Linked DNA regions of Homo sapiens: region 2 is linked to region 1. Evidence: promoter capture Hi-C in 16 types of primary human blood cells and fetal thymus (Javierre and others, 2016). All regions are on one chromosome and are shown on one strand. The core of a region is centred on a gene start or on the middle of the fragment in contact, and the rest is flanking DNA. Distances in the headings are between cores, read along the strand shown.

Region 1 (4,940 bases), core at 866-3,365:
TTTTAACCCATAAAATTGTACTAGGATTGATATAGGTTTCTGAGCCCAGAGGTTTGCAATGTTCAGCGAGAATGTTAGGGAATCACGATCTTTTTGTTTTGCTTTCTTTTGTTTTCCCCTGCTTGAACTCAGAGAAATCTTCAAACAATTCAGCAGCTTCTCTCCTCAAAAGTTTATTTTCAGACGCCAGTGCCATGCAGGCCGCCTTCCCTGTGCAGGTAGGAGGAAGCAGGCACAATGTCACCACACTGGGCCTTTGCAAGTCTTCAAATCACTGGGAAGCCTGTGGTGTTTCCTTTTTGGCACTCAGGCCCTGGAAGGAGAGTTGCTCTAGAGAGGACAAGACATCAGATAACCTGTGGAAACACTTGATGTCCACAGAAATCCCAATTCCACACAAAATACATCTCTGTAAAAGCAGTTGAACAATCGAAACCCGTAGACAATCGAGCAAAAAGTTAAGGAAGAGCTTCGTTACATGGAATTAATTAAATGAAATCTGATAGTGCTTTTACAAGAATCAGTTTTTACTTGATTGGGTTTTTATACGTGAATAAGACAGCTTTGTACCCCATGCATATCTTTCACAAAAAGGAAACTTAAAATACAATTCTTGTTTTTCGTTTATTCCAAAAGCATATGGGACTAATCATATTGCATTCTGGCTGCAGTACAGAAGGCTATTTCAAACAGTTTTAACTCACGAGTTTTAAGGCGCTAAAGAGCAACTAGAGTTTGGGAACAGACTTCTCCAACTCCAAAAGGGTTGGGAATCCCTCAAGGGCCCGTCTGACATCAGGTTTTGGATGGAAACCAGCCTGAACCCGCCAGACAGGGAACCCGCACCCCAAAGCTGGGGCGCACGTTTGTGATCCAAGGTGACAGCTCATCTCGCCACCGCGGGGCTGGGGACACCTGCAGAACCAGGGCCGGGGCAGTGGGCCGCAGACGCCCGGGACCGGGATGGGCGAGGCTGCCGCAGAGAAAGGAAAAGAGGGCCATCTGTCAGCCCCAGGAGAGGAAATTCCAGGAGCCCAGTTCCCAGGCGCCGGACAGCGGGTGACGTGAGGGAACCGAATGAGAGGGTCCGCCCAGCGGCGGGGGACCTGTAGGCGGCCGGCCTCGGCGCTCAGAGGGCTCGAGGCCTGGAGAAGGGGCACCTCCATTCTTGGTCAGAGCCCTGGGAGTCGGGGTATTGGGAGGGTGGATCCTCTCCCGGACCCCCGGAACCAAAGATCTTCACCCAGCCCCGAGGGCCTCCTGGTGTCTCCGATCCTCTCCCTGGGCCCAAGGGATGGGGGCGCCTCGATCGTAGCCTGGACCGGAGCACTCCAGGGAGTCCCCTGGTTCCGGGGATGGAGGCGCTCCGAGCTCTGCCCGGGCCCGGGGGCTCTCGGCGGCGGCCCCGCGCTGGGCGGGGCGTGTCCCCAGCGCATCCGCGGTGGCGCCGGCCGGCGGCCCGGGTCGTAGCGCCCGCGCCGGGTCTGGCGCCCCCAGCCGGCCCGCTTACCGGTCGCGGGGGTCGATCCACGACGTCTGGCGCGTGTTGTGGTCAATGTAAAAGACGCGACCGTCGTAGTCTCGCGCCTCCTCCCAGCCGGCGGGCAGCGGCAGCTCGGCGCTCTCCCGGGCCCGCGGCGGCGGCGCGGAAGGAGCTGGGGGCGTGGGGACCGCGGCGGGGGGCGCCGGCGGCGCGGTTCCCGCTGGGGCTGCGCAGAAGGCGGCGGCTCCCGCGGGGCCTCGCGCGGCTGTCCCCGCCGTCGCCGCCGGCCGCCGCTCAGCCAAGGCATGACGGCGCGGGCCCCGCCGCCGCCCGGCCGCCCCGCGCGCGCCGCCTCCTCCGCCAGCACTAAGGCCCGGCGCCCGGGGCGCGGGGGCGGCCGCGGGGAGCCGCCCGCCGCTCCTGGCGCATCCTCCGCCCGGCGCCCGTGCACCGGCGTCCGCCCGCCCGCCCTAGCAAGCCGCTGCCCGCGCCGCCCACTCCGTTCAGGTAGCCCGGGTGGCCGCCGCGCGCGAAGTCACAGCCCGGGAGCCGCCGCCGCCGCCGCCGCCGCTGCCGGCCGCCCCTCCGTTCCCGCGGCGCGCCCGGCCATCTTCGTTCCTCGGCGCGGCCCGGGCGAGCAGGGGCAGGGCGTTCGCAGGCCCCGCCTCCGGCCGTCCCGCCCCGTTCTCACCCAGGCCCCGCGGCTCCTCCCACGCCGGCGGCTCCACCCACGCCGGCTGCTCCTCCCGAATCTCCCACGGAGGCTCCCGCTCCTCCCGCCGCCTCTGCTTTTCCACCCACTCCCGCTGCTCCGCCTCCCCCGGCCCCGCGTCCTCCGCGCCTCTCCGTCGCCGGCTGCTCCGCCCCCAGTCTCCCTCGGGGTCCTCCTCGGCGCTCGGCTCCTCGACCCCACCCCCACCCCTCCGCTTGCTCCTCCCCCTCCGCCGTCCTCCCTCTCCGCGCGCTCCTCGCTCTCTCCCTCCCGCTCCGCCACCTTCCTCCGGCCTCGGGAAACCGCATGGAGGCCAGGATGGGCGCCGCCGCGTCAGTCCGCCCCCGGGCCCCCGCGTAGAGGAAGGCGGGCGGGGAGGACGACGCCCTACCCGGACTGCGGGCGCGGCCTGCCTGGGGTGACTCCTCGGGCGCAAACAATTCCCGAGAGAGCGGGCAGTGCCCTCCCTTCACCCGCTCCCGGGCTCTGGCTGTCTGGAGACCCTCTGCGCACTTGGCGGGAGGCTGCGCCCTCGGTCTCCCACACAACCCGTCTGGTCCCGCGAAGGTGGGAAAAGCCCCTGAAGGCGGGGCCGAGGGAGCTGAGGAGCTGGGGGAGCCCGCGGCCGGTCCTCTCGGGCGGCGCAGGGAGGACGCCTCTGGAAGCGGGCAGCTGGGCAGGTGGCCACTTTGCGTCCCCGCCAGGACAGCCCTAGAAGGGCTAACCTGGGGGCCCACACTAGGCGGGAGTTCCTTGACCTTCCCTGAGCGCTTCATCCGGTTTGTGGGGTCTGATCGTTTGAGCGGAGACCCAAGTAGACCATTGCTGGGGAGGAAGCCGGGTCAACTCCTAAAACTTTCAGCCTAGACGGGAACTTCTGTTTCACTGGCTCCCAGCTGGGGAAGCTGAAGCTCCAGAGTTGGGGCTGTGTCTTGCTCTAAATCTCCCACCTACTTCGTGCCCCAGACCCACAGCCGCAACACGTTATGCCAGGAAATGCAGGACAGTATCAGGGAGATTTTTAAACAGTTACAGTGATACAAAAATATCTGGTAGAGCCTGATTGAAATCCAGATACACAGGGGAAGAGACTGGAGGAAAATGTCCTGAAATGCTCACAAGAGTTTGCATTCCTTTGGCGGGATTTTTAAAAATGATTTGCCTTCCAATTTTTTGTAAAATGGTAATATTACTTTTATGAGGGGAAAGGTTGTTTTAAAAAAGAAGAATGGGCCGGGCGCGGTGGCTCACGCTTGTAATCCTAGCACTTTGGGAGGCCCAGGCGGGCGGATCACGAGGTCAGGAGTTCGAGACGAGCCTGGCCAGCATGGTGAAATCCCCGTCTCTACTAAAAATACAAAAATTAGCCGGGCATGGTGGCGCACGCCTGTAATCCCAGCTACTCGGGAGGCTGAGGCAGGAGAACTGCTTGAACCTGGGAGGTTGCAGTGAGCTGAGATCGCGCCACTGCACTCCAGCCTGGACGACAGAGTGAGACTCCATCTCAACAACAACAAAAAAAAAATTAGAAGAATGTGGGGCCGGGCTCGGTGGCTCACACCTTTAATCCCAACACTTTGGGAGGCTGAGGTGGGAGGATCACTTGAGCCAGGGAGGTCGAGGCTGCAGTGAGCCGTGTTTGCACGATTGCACTCCAGGCTGGGCGATGGAACAGAGACCCTGTCTCAAAAAAAAAAAAAAAAAAAAAAAAAGAAGAAGAAGAAGAAGAAGAATGTGAAGTTGTGAAGGTATAGCGACGTCCAAAAAACTATCCAAGGAAGGTCTTTCCTCTCCCTCCTCCTACTACAACACAGAAACTTTCTTGCTCCCCAAGTATCTATCTACCCCTACCTGAATGTTCTATGTGAGAAATTCCACCGCATGAGTCCTTTTAAACATGTGTGATTATTACATGTCCAAGGGAAAGAGTGGGAGGGTCAAAAAAGCACATATTTTGTGATGTCGCATGTGCCAGGGAATGCCCCAAGTGCTGAGTGTCCCTGCTCTGACATCTTCCCTTCCGATTGGCATGATTTATCGCCAGTGGGGCTGCCACTGCCTTCTTACCTTACCACCCAACATGGCCGTTCTGAAGCTGCATTTCCACCCTCCCTGTCACCTGGTCCTTTTAGAATCTCACAAATCTGGACACAAATCTATCACTCGAAAGTACTTTGAATGGGGCTGGGGCGTATTGGAGTGAAACCGACTTCTGCAGAGAGAGAGTGGAAAGAGGAGAACACATACACCACACATCAAAGGACTCAGAAGGAAAGGCAAGATGAAAAAAGCATCAGGTAGAGCAAGGAGTGGGGGAAACTGCATCCAATTAGGAGCTCAAAGAGGCCAGCGCCGAGGAGTCTTCACTGAAGGTGAAAGATTTCTACCCGTTCAGGCGGGCAGCAAATAGTGGACCTCCCACGCGCAGACACTGTGCTGCGTGTAGGCATGCTGCAGGGAAGAGGATAGTCTGTGCTTCAGCTTGCACTCCCTTGGGGACTAAACATAGAAATAGGCCCTTGTAATACAATTGTCACTTGTCAACAAATGAAGCCAGGGTGCCAACCTCAATTTGGGGACTCGTGGGAGGCTTTGTGAGACCAAAGGGAAGGTGCCTCAGATGAGGAAACTGAGGCTCAGATGTTCAGATTCCCAAGTTCTGAGCTCTTGCCCCTTGGCACATGGAGCTGCTGTCATGAAATTGTTTACTTGTATAGCAGATGCTGGGGCGGGCTCCCTTCTTTT
Region 2 (4,940 bases), core at 1,579-4,078, 140 kb after region 1:
CTCATTGTAAGCAAACGCCAGGGCCCAGCAGCAGCATTCACGTGGGGTGAGAGCCCCAGAGTTGCTCTCCACCTGGCCAGCCTGCCTGCCTCACCCCTAGCAAGAGCGTGCCCCGCCTCTGGCCTCCACCTCTGGTGTTCAACCTGGGTCCTATGGCAGAAAAGACTGCAGAGGAATGCCACAGAAGCCACAGGCAGAACCGAGCGGCACAGAACAGAGGAGTGGAGCAGACCCGAATGACTTGTTTTTCCCATTAACCTCTGTAATGTTCATTTCTATAAACCCATTACTGTTGGAAAGAAAAGGAAAAAAAAAGACGATCGCTGTCCCAGTATCCAAACCACTTGTGTTCAACCATATATATGCCCCAGGTGTCAAATCATCATTTCATTCAGCTTGATGTTTTAAAAAGGGCACCCACACAATTTCCTGGCTATGTTTCAACAGAATGAATTTGTTGGCAAAGAAACTCAGCACATTCAAGTGTGCAGTCATTAATATGACTCGTTTTATATAGCCCTAAGGATGAACACCACGGATATAAGAAAAAAGACACAAAAAGTTTAACTTGTTGAGTCAACATATCAGTATACACATGGCAAAAGCCATACCAAAAAAAAAAAAAAAAAAGCAACAAGGGATTGCAGACTGCTGTTCTCTAAATGCTATGCTATGTATAAAGCGCTCTAGCCATGTAAATAGACGCAAAGGGAAAGGAAAGAGATTTCAAGAAACAATCTCCCCTAGCCCTTTGTGGAATTCTGCCCACTAGAGCTCAGCAAACAATATCCCCACCTAGCCCTTTCTGATGTTCTGCTCATTACATAAAGCCCATAATAATTTACTGTATTTTTACTCAATTTGTCCTCAAATTCCCTTCCCAGAGCCCATGGTTACTCAAGGTACTAGAAGAGTTAAGAAGATACTCTTCATAGAAAAACAAAAACCAAGGTATAGAGAAGAGATACGAGGTTTAGGGAAAGTAACCAATAAAAGAGACTTTACAGTCACAGCACAGCAAAGAAACATTGAGCCCAGACCATGAAAAGAGATGAAACTCAGTGGCAAAATCGGGGAGGCAGAGGGAGGAAGGTCCACGAATTCCTCTGAATGCAAAGTTACAGGCACTACCACCACAGGTGAACTGAATGTGGCAGTAGTGAAATGCTATTACAACTAAATCACATTTCTCCAAAGGAAGCTTGTGCTTTTATTCCAAACTTTTTACAGATCCTATACACATTCAGAGAACTATTAAATACCACTGCACATGTGGTCACTATGGTAAGCCAGACGTCCACTCACATGGGATCGACATATGCCGAATGGCTGATAAAAATCTTCCCTTATTTGATCACTTATCATCTCACCGAGAGGGTGGCAGGCATCCTTTTCTTTGCAAGGGCATTGAGCCAGAGAACATTCCTCTGTGTCTTTACATTTAATAAACCACCATGTCATAGTTGGCAAATCAAAGTAGTGAAATCACTGAAGAAAGATCTGATTCCTTCCTCTTCTTTGTCATTTACTATAACTGCAGACCAATGACCTTGCTTTCCGTACTATTAAAGGCAAGCACACCCACAACCAGCAGAGTAAATGGTACAACTACCCTCCGTGGTGCAGAGAACTGTTGCTACCTGCCCTGTCCATGACGCTGGCTACCTTACCAAAACATGGTCTGGACGTCGGAACTACTCGAGTTATTTAATCAGCCCACTTCACCTCCCCATCAATGCTGTCATGACTACCATTCAGCAAAGCCTTCTGAGCACTCTCCTTAAACATGCCACTCCATTCCATTCCAAAGGCCTTTGGACTCTAACTGCCACAAACAGGCTTTCTTTAACAATAAAACCAAGTTATCAGGCAACTATTCTAAATGGTTTTTATGAGGATTTGGTTCTAAAAGTACCTTCAGATAGCCAAGACGTAGGAACGCATCTTGCAGTTGGGGACAGGAGGGGTTTGAGTGTGTGTGGGTGGGAGGGAGACATGGGATGAAGTTGTTTTCATTATGGAGCATTTTCTTTGTGTGAATAAATTAGCAAGTGACATTAAAACAAACAAACAACAACAACAAAAAAAACAGGCTTTTGTTACAGATAAGGTATGCCCCTCACTTTGTAGAAAGGGCCAAGGCTGTGTCGGGTACTTCATTTCTTCCCCCAAACTCTCCCACCTTGGAACCAATGGGTGTTAGTGGTAACCGGGCTTGAGGTGACAGTTCTAAGAAGAGGCGACATTTACTCCGCCTTTATGACCTGCCGGGCAGCCATCGCTCATGGCTCTGCCAATATCACCTCTCCCTGCCCCTTGGCAACACACTGAAAGCACGTTTGTCTCCATCTGGACAAAGCGGCCAGTGCAGGGCAGAGCATGCCACAGCGTGCCAGTGCCACCACAGCCAAGGACGGGATGGACAGAGAGGGGACCCGCTCAGTGTGCTCCATGTGGGACAGACAGAGCCTTTGGGGACGTCTCGACCTGCAAAGGCCTCATCTACCTGTCCTTTAGGGGTGACTGCAAGGGCGAGTGGCACACTGGACAGAAGCCACATGTGGGCCTCCTGCCCTGCTAAGCCCACTAAGAGGTCAGCACGTGATCCCAGGGGCCCTTGGTGTCTGCTGGGCTGCTGCCTCTCGCAGGACACTACCTCCCAGATGACAGACACCAAGACCTGTCCCCAGATCCCTGCGCCCTCAAGTCTCAAGAGAGGACATTCCCAGAGTCTGCTCTCAAAATCTCACCAGAACACTCTTCTTTCCAAGCCAATAGCAAACTGGGAATTCAACCAGTGTAGATCAACCTTTTCTCCTAAAGCTCAGGGCTTTCAATTTGGTGGATCTCATTACAGCTGCTCTGTTTTAAAAAATAAAAGTCTACATCATTTGTGGAACCGATAAAAAAATAAAAGTCATTTAAACTTCATCGTTAAGGCTAATGCTAACTTCTCAATTCCTTGAACCTCAAAATAAACTTAACCTGTACAGTGTGGATCCCACTGCATAGCACATACAGGTCCTCCAGAGACCCCAAAACAACACAAAAATAAGCTAAACATTCTCTGTAAGTCTTACTATATTAGAAACCATCACTATTTGCAAACATTGATTCATCTGATTAAATTAGCTAAACCACACACTAAGGCAAAACCCCAATAGAAGTAACTTTCCCCAAAATAAAACAATTCTGATCTATGTGGTTTTCTTTTTTCTCCTGATTTTACTTAATAAAAACAATAAGCTGGCCGGGTGCAGTGGCTCACGCCTGTAATCCCAGCACTTTGGCAGGCCAAGTGGGGCAGATTTCTTGAGGCCAGGAGTTCAAGACCAGCCTGGCCAACATGGCGCAACCCCATCCCTACTAAAAATACAAAAATTAGCCAGGTGTGGTGGCACACGCCTGTAGTCCCAGCTACTGGGGAGGCTGAGGCACGAGAATCGCTTGAACCCGGGTGGCGAAGGTTGCAGTGAGCCGAGATCTTGCCACTGCACTCCAGCAACAGAAGGAGACTCTGTCTCAAAAAAATAGAAAAAATAAAATTAAATAAAAAAAAATAAAAACAATAAGCTGGGCATGGTGGCATGCACCTGTAGTCCCAGCTACTCAGTAGGCTGAGGCAAGAGGATCACTTGAGCCCAGGAGTTTGAGGCTGCAGTGAGCTATGATTGTGCCTGTCAGTAGCCACCGCACTCCAGCCTGGGCAACAGAGCAAGATTTCATCCTTCCTTCCTTCCCATCCTCCCTCCCTCCCTCTCTCCTTTCTTTCCTTCACTCATAATAAAATAAATAAATGAAATAAAAACAATAATGGAAAATAGCCTAAACCAGTCAGGGTCTCCTTTGTTTTAACAAGAAAATAAGCACAGTAGCAAACAGCCATTAGACCCCAAATGCTCACAGAATAGAAATACCCACTCCTGAATCACAGACAAAGACATCAGACAGCCTCGAAGGCATGGGTTTCACCTGACGTCCTCCAGTGTCCCCACTAAGGAGCATGCCCTCCATCTGACCATGCACCATTTCTGCCTCAGGAGTAGTTCTGGAGGGGGTGGGGTGCTGGGGGAGTGGGGTGGGGGTGTAAACCTGCTGACGTCTTAGGCGGCCCCTTACTGCTGCCACCGTTGCGAGTAGCAGCTCCCGGAACATCTGTGCTAATCAACCTTAGGGCTGCAGGGCCACCTGCTCCAGGACAGCTCCAAGGAGCCAGCAGCAGAGGGGGGCACAGCACAATGTGGGCTTGGAGCAGCAGTCAGGGCACCTTAGCAATGCCCAAGACGGGACGCATGTTGTAAGAAACCAGCTCCTAGCAAACATGAGTGCTCTCCCTCGACATGCAGCCTCTTCTCTTCAAATGCAGGACCACACCACATGGTCTCGCAAACCCTTGCAGCCTGATGCAGAAAACCCTTCCCTCTGCTGCTAAGCTGCTCCTGAATGCAAGCTTAGTGGATGTAATTAGATTCACAAGAGGGTTTAGGGCTGCCAGCAAAGAGGCAGGAAGTGACATGAATCAACCCTATCCACGATTTGGCCCCCACAAAATGACTCGCAACACATGACCGGTTCAAGAGAAACTGCCCAGAGTGGGGTCTGTGACAAGGTGGCAGGTGGATTTGCTGTAAACAAAACTAATATTATAATGCATATTTGGGGAAAAAGCCAAAAGGGTAATTGCAAAGCTTTAGAAAATAATTTATGATGTGATATTTAAAAGAAATTTTCCCTAGGGTGTTTGAAATTACAGGTGCTTTTTAGAAGCTGAACTTAACAGCCATTTGCCTCTGAAGGGAGAAAAATGGATGACTCTGTCCCTAGAGCTGTTAACGCAGATTTCAGAGAGAAGACAGCAACAGGCAACAGCCACGGTCCCTGGCACCGAGTGGATAGGATGAGCCCAGCTAAGCTAGGAGCTGCCGTCCCCTTCTCGGTCC

The links. The method cuts DNA at HindIII sites, captures the fragments that hold promoters and counts their contacts. A CHiCAGO score of 5 or more calls a contact.
Region 2: a contact is called between a fragment that was not itself captured here and the fragment with the promoter of WWC3 in region 1, in 2 of 17 cell types (neutrophils and monocytes). The highest score is 6.7, in neutrophils.

The regions. Positions count from the first base shown.
Region 1 is chrX:10,012,429-10,017,368 of GRCh38, reverse strand. WWC3 (WWC family member 3) reads right to left here and starts at 2,115. Exons shown (of 24, transcript NM_015691.5): 1 at 1,696-2,115; 2 at 1,511-1,693. The coding sequence starts at 1,790. RefSeq lists silencers at 2,143-2,202, 2,243-2,412 and enhancers at 2,233-3,116, 3,117-4,000. The HindIII fragment of the contact is 8,733 bases long and covers 1-4,940 here.
Region 2 is chrX:9,877,869-9,882,808 of GRCh38, reverse strand. The region is part of intron 2 of SHROOM2 (shroom family member 2); the gene reads right to left. Among named protein-coding and RNA genes, the nearest start is that of CLDN34, 87 kb to the left of the region's middle. The HindIII fragment of the contact is 3,249 bases long and covers 1,204-4,452 here.